Regions from separate parts of the Homo sapiens genome. Here all the other regions are linked to region 1. Evidence: promoter capture Hi-C in 16 types of primary human blood cells and fetal thymus (Javierre and others, 2016). All regions are on one chromosome and are shown on one strand. The core of a region is centred on a gene start or on the middle of the fragment in contact, and the rest is flanking DNA. Distances in the headings are between cores, read along the strand shown. Region 1 holds the start of KIAA1958. Region 2 overlaps SNX30 (sorting nexin family member 30). Region 3 overlaps SNX30 (sorting nexin family member 30).

Region 1 (4,780 bases), core at 1-2,500:
ACCTGACTGGCTTGTTAGCTGTTTATTTCGTCGGGAGAGGATTCCGTCTTGCGAATCCTAACGAGTTCGGGAAAAAACAAAACTTTACTCCTAAACTTCAAAACACACACACACACACACACACACACACGCACACACACTAAATACATATAATTGTAAAAATCACAGCCACGTTCATTTTTTTTAAAGTCCCAATCTAAAACCTTAAAGAAAAAAAAAGACTTGAAGGAACCAAAAACATTCTTTGATTTTGGTTTGACGTTGTTCAGTCCAACCTCCTCCTACCCAGGGGAATACATTTCTCGATATATTTGATAACAAACACAAATCACTGTGCGCAGCCTCAGATGGGGGTGGGGGGGCGGAAGAGCCTTTTGGAGAAAGCCCTCCTCCGTTAGAAACAATAAATAAGGGAGCGAAGCCATGCACGTTCCTTCACACACGCCCCAAACGCACCTCGGCGAGCCACCCGAGGAGGAAAACTAGTGGGGCAGAGCCCTGAACCACCTCTCTTTCTCCATAAGCATCTCAAGACTTGGAAACTAAGAGGACAGACCTTTTCCTCCTCCTTCCCGCCCTCCTTCCCACCTCCGACAGACCCAAGAGCAGGAGCGGGGGCGCCAGCCCCACGCACTGCGCCTGCAGCCGCCGCTGAGACCCGAGCTGCCGGGCGGCGGGGCGGCCCGGGGCAGGCGGACCGGAGCCGCCACCGGGGGTCTCTGCGCCTCGCACCCCCAAGCCCGGCGCTGCCGACGAGCGGCCGCCCGGGTCCCTGCCCTCGCTCCGGCCTCGCTCCCCCGAGAGGAGACAAAAGGAAGGTTCAGCCGGGTCACCGCGCGGCCGCTGACGGGGAAGCAGAGTCGACCCCGGCGCGGCCGCCCCCCACACAAAGGGGCTCCCCGCCTGGGTCGCGGCGTCGGCGCACTCGTCCCCGCCCCGCGCGCGGGCTCTCACCCACCTGCAGGTGTCTGTGCGTCTGTCCATAGGAACGCGGTCGGCGCGGGGGGGCCTGCGAGAGCCGGGCAGCCCGGGCTGGACGGGACGGGCCGAAGGGGCGCGAGGGCGGGAGGAGAGCGGCCAGAGGGCCGGGCACCAAAGGTAAGTGGAGCGGGGAAGGCGCCCGGCGGGCGGCGGACCGAGGAGCGGGGCGGGGGGCGGGGGCGCCAGCCTGGCTCGGCCGACCGCCGCGCGCCGCTCCGTGCGCCCCGAGCTCCGCGCGCCCGGCTCGGAGCGCGGCGGGCGGGCAGGGGGCGGGGCGCGGGCGGGCCGGGGCGGGGCCGGCGAGCGGGGCGGGGGCTCGGACCCCGGGCTCCAGCCGGCACCGGAAACGCGCCGTGGTCGGCGAGACCCACAGGAAGTGTGTAACGACACCTCCTACGGCACGCACCGAGCTCGCAGTCGTTGCTGCCCCGAGGAGGTGTAGATCGAGCCTCCTGCCGCACACACGTTCGCACGCGGCGGCCGGCGCGCTGGACCGAGAGGTTGGAGCAATCCATCCTCCGCGCGCACGAGCTCAGTCCCTACTGCCCCGACAGGTGTGGAACCCGCCGTCCCCGCTATGGTCCGAGGAAGTGTACAGCACTGCTCCCTACTACACGTCCTGGGCCCGCGGTCCCCGATGCCCCCCGGAGCTCTGTGCACCTCCACTGAAACGCAAGGAGCAGACAGAACCTACACCATCCGTGAGGTGTGTGATTTCCCTTATAACGCATTGAGTAGAGTTACCTCTCCGCCCAGGGATGTGCATTAACACTTTCTACCGAGATACTACGTACAGCCCATAGTCACCGCTGCCCCGTGAAGGTGCCCAACAACCACCTGTAACACACACACCCCTATCCCATCGAGGGAGCGGGGATGCTTAATGATACCTAAAATACACTAAAACTAGGTCCTCCAGCAAACCAGAGACACAAGAACACCACCTACACGACTCAGCACAGCAAAGATGAAGCTGGACTTGCTAGGTGCTACCAGGCTTGGTCCACCTTTATTTTACCTAACACTTTCGTAGTACTTGCTGTGTGCCCACAGTTTGCACTGAGTACTTAGCGAATATTAATTTATTTAATCCTAAGAACTCTACATAGTGGGTGCTATTAACATTGCCATTTTATGATAAGGAAACTGAGGCACAGAGAAATTAAGAAATTTTTTCAACATCACATAGATAGTAGCTAGAGGAGCCTGGATTCATTCCGGACAGTCTGGCTTCAGAGTCTGCTCTTAACTCCCTTTCTATTTACAGCACTGACCATCTCCAAAACAGTAATCATGGTAATAAATAACATTTACACCATATCTGTCAGGCCTTACGTAGTGCCCACATCTTGGCCTCACCTCATCTGTGACAGGCATACCCCAGTCACTTGTACCCTTGGAGTAGGTAAGGGAAGAGAAGAATATTTTTGAGGGAGAGAAAGAAGCTAACTTCTTAGCAAAGGAGAAAATATCCAGGGTCGTCCAGAATCCAAGCAGGTAACTTCATTACCACATCAAGCATGTTCTCTTTTAGGTAGCTTCTGCCAACCCCTCTCCATCTCTAGAGCTGATTCCGGTTGATGTTCTTAACACCTTCCTCTATCAACACTCTTCCAGGTCTAGGCTGAAATTTAAAATCTGTGTAAATGTTGACACAATAATGTTTGTACAAACAAAAAAGACCAAAAATGAAAACCCCCTAGTTAATTGCTGCATATTCTAAAGATGGGATCTTGTGGAGAAATTGGAACTCTTATGCAATGCTGATAGGAATGTAGATGGTACCACCACTATGCAAAACAGTGGGGAAGTTCCTCAAAAAACTAAAACTAGAGCTACCATATGATCCAGCAATCCCACTTCTGGGTAAATATCCAAAAGAATTGAAAGCAGGATATCGAAGAGATATTTGCACATTCATGTTCATTGCAGCACTATTCACAATAGCCAAGAGGTTGAAGCAGCCCAAATGTTCATCAACAGATGAAGAGATGAATGAAAATGTGATATATACATATAATGGAATATTATTCAGCCTTAAAAAGGAAGGAAATCTTATCACAGGCTACAACATAGATGAACCTTGAGGATGTTGTGCCAAGTGCAATAAACCAGTCACAAAAGGACAAATACTGTTATGATTTGACCTATATGAACTATGTAGAGGTATGTAAACTGTGGGATTATGTCAAACTTGTGGAAACAAGACGGTAGAATAGTGGTTGCTAGAGGGTAGAGGGAGGGGAAAATGGTGATATAATGTTTACTGGGTACAGAGTTTCAATTTTGCAAGATGAAAAATTTCTAGAGATGTTACACAATAATGTAAATATAACACCACCGAACTGTACACTTAAAAGTAGTTACAAAGGTAAATTTTAAATTGTTTTTGCCACAATCAACTTCAAAACAAATCTAATTTTATTTGTTTAAAGGATATTTCACTACAATGAATTTTTTTAATGATGCAGGCATCCAACCATGATGAGGTACCTTGTTGAACAAACTAACTCTGCCACTGAGAACGATGAAAGCTGTTTAAAAAAATAAATAAGTCTGTTTAAAACAATTGGAGAGCAACCCTGTCATCCAAGGCTTGAGAGTCCACGAGCCCCCCAGGAAGAAGAGAAATACTCTGAAGTGAGTCCTGCATTCTCAGCCGCTTTTCCTTCTCAGGGCATTGTTGATTTGTGTCTAGGAGTGTAGAAGTCAGAAAGAAGCACCCTAGAGCTTACCGGCAGTCTTACTGGCCTGGAGATACAAAATTTGGAGTCAGGTCTATTAAGGCAGCTAGGACTTGAAAAACGAAGATCCTAGAGAAAGCAATCACAGTAAACCTAGTGGGTTGGCTGAGGGCCATAATCCCGGCACTTTGGGAGGGTGCGGCAGGAGGATTGCTTGAGGCCAGGAGTTTGAGACCACCTTGGGTAGCATAGTGAGACCCTCGTCTCTACAAAAAGAAAAAAAAATTAGCTGGGCATGGTGGCCCACATCTCTAGTTCCAGCTACTCAGGAGGAGTAGAGGAGAAAGAGAGAAGAAAGGAGACCTGTGAGATTATGCTTTTATTAGGTCTATAGGCATTATGCCCTTAAAAAACACATGCACAAAGGAGAGGAACTTATTTCCAAGACTCTGGTGTTAACCATTAGGTTTTTGTTTTGTTCTGTTTTGTTTTGAGACAAGGTCTCCCTCTGTTGCCTAGGCTGGAGTGCAGTGGCGTGATTTCAGCTCACTGCATCCTCTACCTCCCTGCCTCAGTCGATCCTCATGCCTCAGCCTCTTGAGTAGCTGGGACTAGAGATGTGGGCCACTACGCCCAGCTAATTTTTTTTTCTTTTTGTAGAGACAGGGGTCTCACTGTGTTACCCAGGGTGGTCTCAAACTCCTGGCCTCAAACAGTCCTCCTGCCGCACCCTCCCAAAGTGTTGGGATTACAGCCCTCAGTCAACCATTAGGTTTTTTCATGGTCAGCTGAGGGATGTGTTGCGTTTGGGAGTCTATAAGATGAACAAGTGGGCTATATCTCAACGACACTGGGAGGGGAAGTTTGTTTTGTTTTGTTTCTTGAGACAGAGTCTTGCTGTGTTGCCCGGGCTGGAGTGCAGTGGCATGATCTCAGCTCACTGCAGCCTCCTCTGCCTCCCAGATTCAAGCGATTCTCATGCCTCAGCCTCTCGAGTAGCTGGGATTACAGGCACACGCCATCCTTCCCATCTAATTTTTGTATTTTTAGTAGAGGCAAGGTTTCACCATATTTGGCCAGGCTGGTCTTGAACTCCTGAGCTCAAGTGATCCTCC
Region 2 (4,780 bases), core at 1,214-3,713, 300 kb before region 1:
AGGGGCTACAGGTAGGGGGAACAGGGAGAGCCAGCTTAATAAAGACCAAATTTCTTTTTGGGGTGACAAAATATTCTAAAATTAGATAGCGATGATGGTTGCACAACCCTGTGAATATACACTCAATTATATACCTTAAAATGGTGAATTTCATGCTCTGTAAATTATCTCCAATAACAATAAAACAATAAAAAATGTAGTGGACATATTTTAAAAATGAAGACCTTTTAAATCACAAAGCCATGTCCACTACATTCAGATATAAAGTATTTGCCATAATTCAAAACCATTCTGGAAAGTCTAGTTACCGCAATAATATAGAGAAGAATACTTGAACTCATACAGTGATCTGCCACATGAGTTCATGGCAATAGGTCAGGCTCCTCCCAAATTATCTAAAATTTGTAATATACATAATAGGGAGCAAATGTGTTTAAAGCATTTTTAAATGGTAAACATGAACTGCTATATTTACTAAATGTTCTGGGAAAGAAGTGGAGGACAAAGACTATATGGTAGATTGCATTAGTGTTCATAATTATGAACTTCCCATCCTTTAAAAGGATCATATATTCTTCTTATTGCCAAGTGACTTCCCACAGGAAGACACATCCCCACCACACTGACTTTGGCCTTGGACACGTGACTTGCTCCAGCCACTGGTACATGGTACATGAATGTACATCGGATCAGAGCAGATCCTTTAAGAGCCAACGCATGCTTCCACCAGCTCCCTTGCTCCTCGACTTTGAAAGTAGTGTGTCCCAAACAGGGGCTGCTCCTTTGGAATGGGAAGACTTGCAGGAGAGGGCCAGAGAAGCTGACTCACAGCCACTGACACACGGCATGACCTAGAAATACATGTTTGTTGCACACCTTAGCATTTTTGGAGTTATTACCACAGCAAAGCTGACTAGTACATATAATCATTAAAATGTCTGTATAATTTTTAACAGTCTAAATAGGACACAGTGATATAAAAAGTAGGGAATATTAAGACATAGAGATTTATCTTTTGTTTTGGAGAGTTATTCAAATGTATCTTAACTATTGATAGTAAGTCTCAAGTTCTGCACTGCTACTTGCTTATTAGTAGGAAGTTCAGTTTCCCTTGCCACACAGCCCAGGAATTCCCATCTCAAATATTCTCCAAAAACTCCAAGGTTGCTTGTACAAGTATCTCCAAGTTCCCAAGGCCCATAGCCTATGGTTTCTAAGTTAGTATCCCCCCTGAACAGTTTTATGTGTTTCTACTTTGGATTCAGGACCATTTTTCATAAGGCAAGGCTTTTTCTTTAGACATGGTTTAAGAGATCACCTGTTTCAAAGCTTTGTCACTAAAGTTGTTTAGAAACTGAAAATGTTTTTCATAGGTTTTCTATTAGAAAATCTGCCCTTCAAGCAAATTCTACCCATTGGCCTGATGCAAAAGAACACTTCTTAACAAGATCATAAAGTCAAAATGAAAGAATCCAGGTCCACATTCCTTGGCAAACTTACCAGTGTCTGTTAATAGATTTTTCTAAGAATCTCCAGACTAACATTCACTTCTCCAGACATTCTTATGATTCTTAGGAGCCAAGATTTTCCCCAACTCTCAGCTGCATTTACCATACACAATTCCTGTTCATTCCTTCTAAGGAAGATCCAGTATTTCAAGCATATACTAAACACCGAATACACAAGGCCAAAATCCCAATGCAGTGCTACCAAACAAAACAGAATATAGCATCTGTGTTTAAATAACTTTAGTTGGGAATATGGACATGAGACCTCTAACTCTGATGCAATGCAATAGTGGCTATGAACAGAGCTCCATGAATGGATGGGGGCAACTTGAGAAGAATAAGTAGACTTGCCAAATGGAAAAACAAGGCTGGGGGAGAGCTTGGCCAGGACATTCCAGGCTGAGAAATCCCCAAAAATCAAGGGCGAGAGGCATTTCCGAGAGCCTGTTCCTAACAATAACTAAGATCCCCAACACAAAAATTCTTCCTCTGCTGCTGGTCAAGGATGTGCATGCCACCTGGAGGACTCAACAGAACAAGCAGACAGCTTTCTACAAAGACAGAATGCACCTTTCCAGAGGGCACGAACAAAGAGAACACAACTCGACCTAAAATCCTGTTCTCGGGGCCAGGTGCAGTGGCGCACTCATGTAATCCCAGCATTTTGGGAGGCCAAGGCAGGAGGATTGCTTGAGCCCAGGAGTTCAAGACCAGCCTGGGCAACATAGTGAAACCCTATCTCTACAAAAAATACAAAAATTAGCTGGGCGTGGTGGCGCATGCCTGTGGTCCCATCTACTGGGGAGGCTGAGGTGGGAGGATCACCTAAGCCCAGGAGGTTGAGGCTGTGGTGAGCCGAGATCGTGCCACTGCACTCCAGCCTGAGTCACAGAGCAAGACACTGCCTCAAGAAAGAAACAAAAAATCCTGAAATCCTGCTCTCTTTTCTGCCCACTTTGACCCTCATTCTCAGGATCTTGCCAACTGAAAACTTATAAACCTAAGGAAGGCATTCCTCCACTGAAACTTCTGCACCAAAATCACACAAGGGTCTAGGGTGTAGAAGCCCCCAGAGATCATCCAAGTTGTCTCTATTACACATATGGAAAAGTCTTATACGTAACAAGCATGAGGTCCCTCGAGTGGTGTGTGAGGAGCCCAGGTAGGGCTGTGCTACACCACAATCCAGGCGTTCCTTAGGTAGGAAGAAGGTGCCTAGAACGACCCCTTCATAAACAATAGTTCTTTTCCTACCCTTCGCCCAATTCCTCTTAACTGTACCATCTGTTCATCTTACAAAGCCTGGTTCTCATTGACATGTTTCTGTGCTACCATCTGACATGGTACTACACACGCGGAGTGCACTCTGCATGTGACCTAAGAAGTCAGGTGCCTAAGGAAAGTCCAAGAAAACGGCATTTTGAGTTTTCAGAACAAAGGCCTAGAGGAAACAAAATATCATACAGAGCTGAGTATGTGCTTGTTGATTAATCATCACCCCAGCCCAAACCTTCTCAAGGACAAAAAAAAACACTCAAGTGAGGAACAGGGCAGGACTCAACTTCCAATAGCAGGTGCCAAGTGGTTACTGTTAATCCACTCTTACAGCCCACACTTCTCAGATGTGCTGCAAAAGCCTTGCACTTTTAGCAAGACTAAAAGTGTCCTTGCCTTGGGTGGATCCCCTGAGGTCAGGAGTTCAAGACCAGCCTGATCAATATGGTAGAACCCTGTTTCTAGTAAACATACAAAAAAAAATTAGCCAGGTGTGGTGGCATGCGTCTGTAGTCCCAGCTACTCGGGAGGCTGAGACAGAAGAACTGCTTGAACCCGGGAGGCAGAGGTTGCAGTGAGCCAAGATCGCGCCACTGTACTCTACCCTGGGCGACAGAGCGAGACTCCATCTTTAAAAAAAAAAAAAGCGTCCTTGCCTCAAAAATTACCGAAAACTCACCATTCCTCTACAATAGGGACTGTCTCTCTGAAACCCATAGGCACCTTGGGGGCCAAAAATTATGCACCAACATTTGCATGTGCACATGCAAATGCCAATCTTCTTTGGGAGCTTAGATGTTACATCTAAGCTTCTTAGGAGAGAACCTATAATTATTAGAGCCTCAAAAATACCTAGGGAGGGAAAAAAATCACGACAGATTCTAAACTGTCTCTCTAAACTAAAAATAGGAAACAGAAATACATTTCGACCTACCTGAGCTACCCAAATTCAAACTGCCCTCTAGTATAGTACTTCCACATTTAATGATTTGTGACACCCATACCCTACCTATGGGGCTGGGGGCTGTCCTTAAATCCTCAATCCAAACCTAAAATGAACACAAGAGGATGTGCTAAATGAGAAGGAAACGTGTGACTACATTCAAATAGGTCATACTTCCTTCCACAGTGTCTTCACTTCATTTTTTTCTCCCCGTACAGAACAGGTTCTCCCTGTACAGTACTAGTTTTGTGGCACTCAATAATGTTGTATTGATTTAGATCTGCATCTCACCACAAAGCAGCTAGAAGAGATGTTTTTCCGTGGAACTTTTCGAGGCCTGAGACACAGTTTCCACACAGCATCTTTTTAGAATCCTGAAGTGTGCTAGCCTACAACCCAAAAGTACAGATGGCCTTCCAGGCTGGAGCGCCACCTGACTGGCTACCTGGCTGCCCCAGATCGAATTCCCACATTCCCACTGACATGACTCAGACCGAATGTGGGTGATTTCTATTCCCATGGTTAGCGTGTTCACTGGAAAAGAAAAAGGCCCTGAACCAAGAGTCTGATCATAGTTAAAACATTAAAGAATAAGAGAAAAAACAGGAAGAGGGTATTCTAAACCAAAATGGCTCAAAGGAGTTTCACACCTAAGTAACCAGACAAGGAGAGGTAAAGAAAATTTTAAAAAGGCAAGAAGGGGCCAGGCGTGGTGGCTCACACCTGTAATCCTAGCACTTGGGAGGCCAAGGTGGGCAGATTGCTTGAGCCCACAAGTTCGAGATGAGCCTGGGCAACATGGTGGAACCCCATCTCAAAAGTTTAAAAAAAAAAAGTCAAGGACAGACGTAAAAGAAAAGGGCCTTAAATTTAATACTGGTCACACAGTCTTGCCCTCTCACATGGGCATTCTGAGTCCAGAGACAGAAATGAGCTCTGTAAACAAGGGCCATGCACTACTAGGAGAGGGACAGACACAGAAGAAGGAAGAAAGTGAAGGAATGAATGAGGAAAAAAAAACTCTTACAGCCTTACTTAGCTATAAACTATGAGG
Region 3 (4,780 bases), core at 786-3,285, 290 kb before region 1:
TGAAAATCAAATTAAGGAGAAGACGTGAACATTTCTACTATAATCAGATCCATGGTAATATAAATATAACATAATTGTGAATATTTATTGTGAGCTGCTTATTTGTTAAGGCTATCTGTAATTTGGCCTTGAAGTCATAATTTATAGTAAATGAATCCTAGCTCACTCAGGATTTTCTTCTCCACAATTTATGTACTCTTTCTGCAGAACTGGTTGTTTCCCCTTCCCCATATGCCTTGAGTTTTATCATAGTCTCACTATATAATCTTACTATTCTAGAAAGCATTCTTCCTTTTCTTTCATCTTTTACTTTCTGAATATTTAAGGTACACCACACACCTCAAGATGCACCTATTCCTACTATCAGTATCTATCAAAATATATGTAAGTCTTAGCTACTTGGGAAGATTGCTTGAGCCCAGGAGTTCAAAGCTGCAGTGAGCCACAATCACGCCACTGCACTCCAGCTTGAATGACAAAGCGAGATCCTATCTCTTAAAAAAAAAAAGCAAATAATCTTCTTTGTAGCCATATAAAGTATGTTGTTCATATGAGTTATGACTATCAGTTATGAGAAGAGATTTTGGACCCTATTGTACATAACCTTATTAAGCTATCAAAACAACCTTATGAGACAGGTACTATTATTAACCCCATTTTATGGATGGGACAACAGGGTTCAGAGGAGGTAAGTGATTGCCAGCCAGTAAGTGATTATATTAGAACTCCCTTGGCCAACTCTAAAGGCTCTATTCTCTCTACGCAGCTGCAACGGCCTCACACCTACATTGCTCTAACCAACCTCTCTAACAATTCTCAACTTCTTTACACAGTGTGCTTCCTTGCTTTGGAACAAGAGGTGGTAAGTATGCTTTATTCATTTAGCTTCTGGCAACATTGTTTCTCACAATTAACAGATTAACAGATTCTCTTGACCCATTTACTGCAACACCACAAATCTACAGATAGCTGGGAAGTTCCTTGATTCACGAATAAATCAATAGCAAGACTTTTCAAGTAGCCTTTTCATAATTTAAACACAAGGAGAATTTAAAATGGGAAATGTGTTTTTGTTTTAAATCAAGGAGCAAACACGCCAGGATCAACACTTGAAGACATATTCGTTTATGTAGTAACAAAACTGGTTTATGTGAAATGCAAACATTGCTTTCATAACTTACGATCTTGGGATACTGCAATGTATCTTTAATAAACATTACCCTTTCTACTCACACTCAGTACTGGGTACAGCAAAATCTAAGAGAATTTGAATGATTTGAGAAAAGCAAAATACAGTGGCTACCTTGTTCTTCAGAGTCAGACTGGAAGTGAAGATGTGACCATTTTGCTCAAACCATGGCAGGGGAGACACGCCTAGATATCTCCACACGCACACACGAGTACCACAGCCCCACACCTGTCAATCCACAAATCTAAACAATGTCTAGCCTATCATACTATATGAGATACTTTCTAGGTTACTCAAAAAGCTTCAAGAATACCTAAAATAATGTGCCAGGTCTCCCAGCACACCTGGAGAGGAGGATCTGGTTACAGCAGAAGAGTGAAGGCAACTCAACTGCATCCTCTTACAAAGAGGTGTCAGTCTAATCCCCAACAGAGCCACCTCCCAGAAACACTTCTTCCATTTCCACTTGTTGACAAGTTGGTCGTTCCTCTCTCTGGGGAGAAACTGAAATGAAGCTAGAGTAACCCCTCACTAGAATAAGGATTGTTCTAAAGGAAACCAGAACAGAGCTAACGTCACCGGGCTGAAAACACCTCTTCCTCTTTCACGGAGACTGGCAATGTTCTAGGCAAGGAAAGTCCTCTGCCAGGAAGGATGAGGGCAAGGGCATGAAATGGGGTCCAATAAAGTCTGGACAACTGTGAAACAACCGAAGGTTTGCCCCTGCTCCATGACTTGAACCAGGAAAAAAAAGAATGTCTCAAGCCAGAACAAAAAGTTCACAAAATTGACCACAGAGGGAAAGGGTAAAACTCACCACAAGCCAACATTCACCCATATTTGACCTGAACAGATTTGAAAAACTACCAGAAAAGCACTGTCTCTTTTTTCCCTTTGTCACAGTTTAGCCTTATCTCTTTGGGGTTTTGAGCAGTTATGAAAATGTGGCTGTTATCCCTTCTCAAAAACAGTCATAACTGCTCAACAGGACTATGAGTGAGAGCCCTCACTGGCCCCTTTTTTTGAAGCATGATCAGAGTTTGTTTGGTATCAACCATTATTAACCAAATTAGAAAGAGAGAGGGAAGATTCTTTCTCCCTAATTTGGTCAAATAGCCACCCGGGGAGACTATACTCTTGAAGGCTGGGAGAAGGACCCTTCTGACACAGCAATGCTGCATCCTTCCAAGGCTGGCAGACATACTGACATAAATTCTTTCACACACACGCAAGACAGACTATACACGATTTATACATTTTTTCAACTTAACGTTTTTTTCCATTGTTGCATATAAGTATATACAGGGCTGCCTTATTCCTTTTAATACCACATTTCAAAAACTACCATAGTTTACAAAACCAGCACCCTACTAATAGCCATATAAGCTTTTATCTTTTGCTATTAAAAATAATACTGCAACAGGTATCCTTATACACACAGCATTTAGCACGGGTCCATTTATTGAGTCACCAAATATCTGTATACTCCACCCATACCAGGTTTGGTTCATGCATGGAAATTTAGCAATAAGCAAACCAGATCAGGCCCCTTGCCTTCAAGAAGTTTACAGCACAGTACTGGAGAAAGTAAACCAAGTATGTCTGGTGGTTTAAGTTCTGCGAAGCAAGATTAAAGCCAGGTAAAGGGGGAGAATAACTGGGCAGGGAGGGGTCTGCTACTAGTTTGTTTTTTGTTTGTTTGTTTATTTGTTTGTTTTTGACACAGAGTCTCACTCTGTCACCAGGCTGGAGTGCAGTGGCCCGATCTCGGCTCACTGCAACTTCTGCCTCCTGGGTTCAAGAGATTCTCCTGCCTCAGCCTCCTGAGTAGCTGGGACTACAGGCACGCGCCACCACGCCCAGCTAATTTTTGTATTTTTAGTAGAGATGGGGTTTCACCATGTTGGCCAGGATGGTCTCTATCTCTTGACCTCGTGATCCGCCTGCCTCGGCCTCCCAAAGTGCTGGGATTACAGGCGTGAGCCACCGCGCCCGGCCAGGGGCTGCTACTAGTTTATACAGGGAGGTTGGGGGAGGCCTGAATGAAATAGATGAACAAGCCTGCAGGCTGTCTGGGCCAAAAGGCGTGAGGCAAGGGAGTGGGCAGGGGGAGAGAGAAGTGGACGGAGGCCAGAGAAGCAGCAGAGCCAGATTACCCATGTACTTGGAGCCCATGGAGGATTTGAGGGGAATGTGTGAGAACTGAGAAGTCTCTGGATGGTTTCAAGCAAAAGCAAAAAAGAGGCCAGGCGCGGTGGCTCATACCTGTAATCCCAGCACTTTGGGGGGACGAGGTGGGCAGATCACAAGGTCGGGAGTTCGAGACCAGCCTGGCCAACATGGTGAAACCCCATCTCTACTAAAAATACAAAAAATTAGTCGGGTGTGGTGGCAGGTGCCTGTAATCCCAGCTACTCGGGAGGCTGAGGCAGGAGAATTGCTTGCACCCAGGAAACAGAGGTTGCAGTGAGTCGAAACCGCACCACAACACTCCAGCCTGGCCAACAGAGTGAGACTCCATCTCAAAAATTAATTAATTAATTAATTAAATTTAAAAAGCAAGAGACATGATGCGACTGATGTTTCTTATGTTTTAAATAATCCCTCCGGTTGCTGCCTGGATATATGACTGAAGGTGGGAAGGTGGAAGCAGGAAGACGAGTCAGGCGGCTGGTACAGTAATGCAGGCAAGAGGGGATGACAGCAGTCAGGGTAGCAGCAGTGGAGAGAGTGAGAAGTGATGAGATTCTGGACATGGTATTTCAGAAGCACTTGCTGATGGCTTAGGTATGGGATGAAAAAGGGAAGAGCCGAGGCTAATTCCAAGGCTTATCCTTGGAATTAAGAGTGAGCTAGATAACTAGCTTGACATGCCTGTTGGAGATGCAGGGTTAAACATCAAGAAGGCAGTGGGAGACAGGAATTTGGAATTCAGGAGAGAGGTTTCTGGCCTGGAGTTATCAGTGTGTAGATGTGTGAGGCTGGATGAGATTGCTTAGGGACACCATGCAGATGAAGAGAGGCCATATCAGAATGGAGTCCTACAGCAGTCCAACATTTAGAGCTAGGGAGATGAGACGGAACCAGCCAAGGAGACAGAGGAGGAACAGCCAGTAAGGTACATAAGGAACCAACAGTGAGTGGAATCCCAGAAGCCAAGTGAAGATTCAGCTCTTCCTGTCTGTGCCAGGGTGGTGCCTGGTCCATGCCAAGCTACAGAGATGCCTTAGTTGTGCCCTCAGGATGACTGCATGGACATGGCTGCACCCACAGTAGTGGAGACTCCTGGCATCAAGCTCTTGGGGAAGTGGACACTTTCCTGCAGGATGGCACTGCAGTGATGGAGAAGTGATGCCAAGTGCCAGCCCCACAGCCCAGGATGCTATGCGGCCAAGCACTTCTGCAAGTGAAGGGAGGATCAAAAGACAGAAACGACCTCAATGTAGAGGTCTTGAATGATGTTAACTAGAGGTGGAGAGGAAAGAAAGCCTTCTCCCTTCACATGCTAGTTTATCCGCAGGACAGACACAAACAGAAAAGAACTTGTTGAATCAAAAGAAACATACGTATTTGTAATTTTGATATATGTTG

The links. The method cuts DNA at HindIII sites, captures the fragments that hold promoters and counts their contacts. A CHiCAGO score of 5 or more calls a contact.
Region 2: a fragment that was not itself captured here is called in contact with the fragment with the promoter of KIAA1958 in region 1 in 5 of 17 cell types (naive B cells, total B cells, naive CD8 T cells and 2 more); the score reaches 9.8 in naive B cells.
Region 3: a contact is called between a fragment that was not itself captured here and the fragment with the promoter of KIAA1958 in region 1, in 1 of 17 cell types (naive CD8 T cells). The highest score is 5.3, in naive CD8 T cells.

The regions. Positions count from the first base shown.
Region 1 is chr9:112,483,297-112,488,076 of GRCh38, reverse strand. It overlaps KIAA1958, which reads right to left and starts at 1,250. Exons shown (of 4, transcript NM_133465.4): 1 at 959-1,250. HSDL2-AS1 (HSDL2 antisense RNA 1) reads left to right here and starts at 433. Exons shown (of 5, transcript NR_171779.1): 1 at 433-1,098; 2 at 1,536-1,687. RefSeq lists silencers at 652-1,141, 1,222-1,281 and an enhancer at 1,712-1,771. The HindIII fragment of the contact is 12,105 bases long and covers 1-4,780 here.
Region 2 is chr9:112,786,450-112,791,229 of GRCh38, reverse strand. The region is part of intron 1 of SNX30 (sorting nexin family member 30); the gene reads right to left. Among named protein-coding and RNA genes, the nearest start is that of SNX30, 38 kb to the right of the region's middle. The HindIII fragment of the contact is 2,263 bases long and covers 1,332-3,594 here.
Region 3 is chr9:112,769,123-112,773,902 of GRCh38, reverse strand. The region is part of intron 1 of SNX30 (sorting nexin family member 30); the gene reads right to left. Among named protein-coding and RNA genes, the nearest start is that of SNX30, 21 kb to the right of the region's middle. The HindIII fragment of the contact is 1,085 bases long and covers 1,493-2,577 here.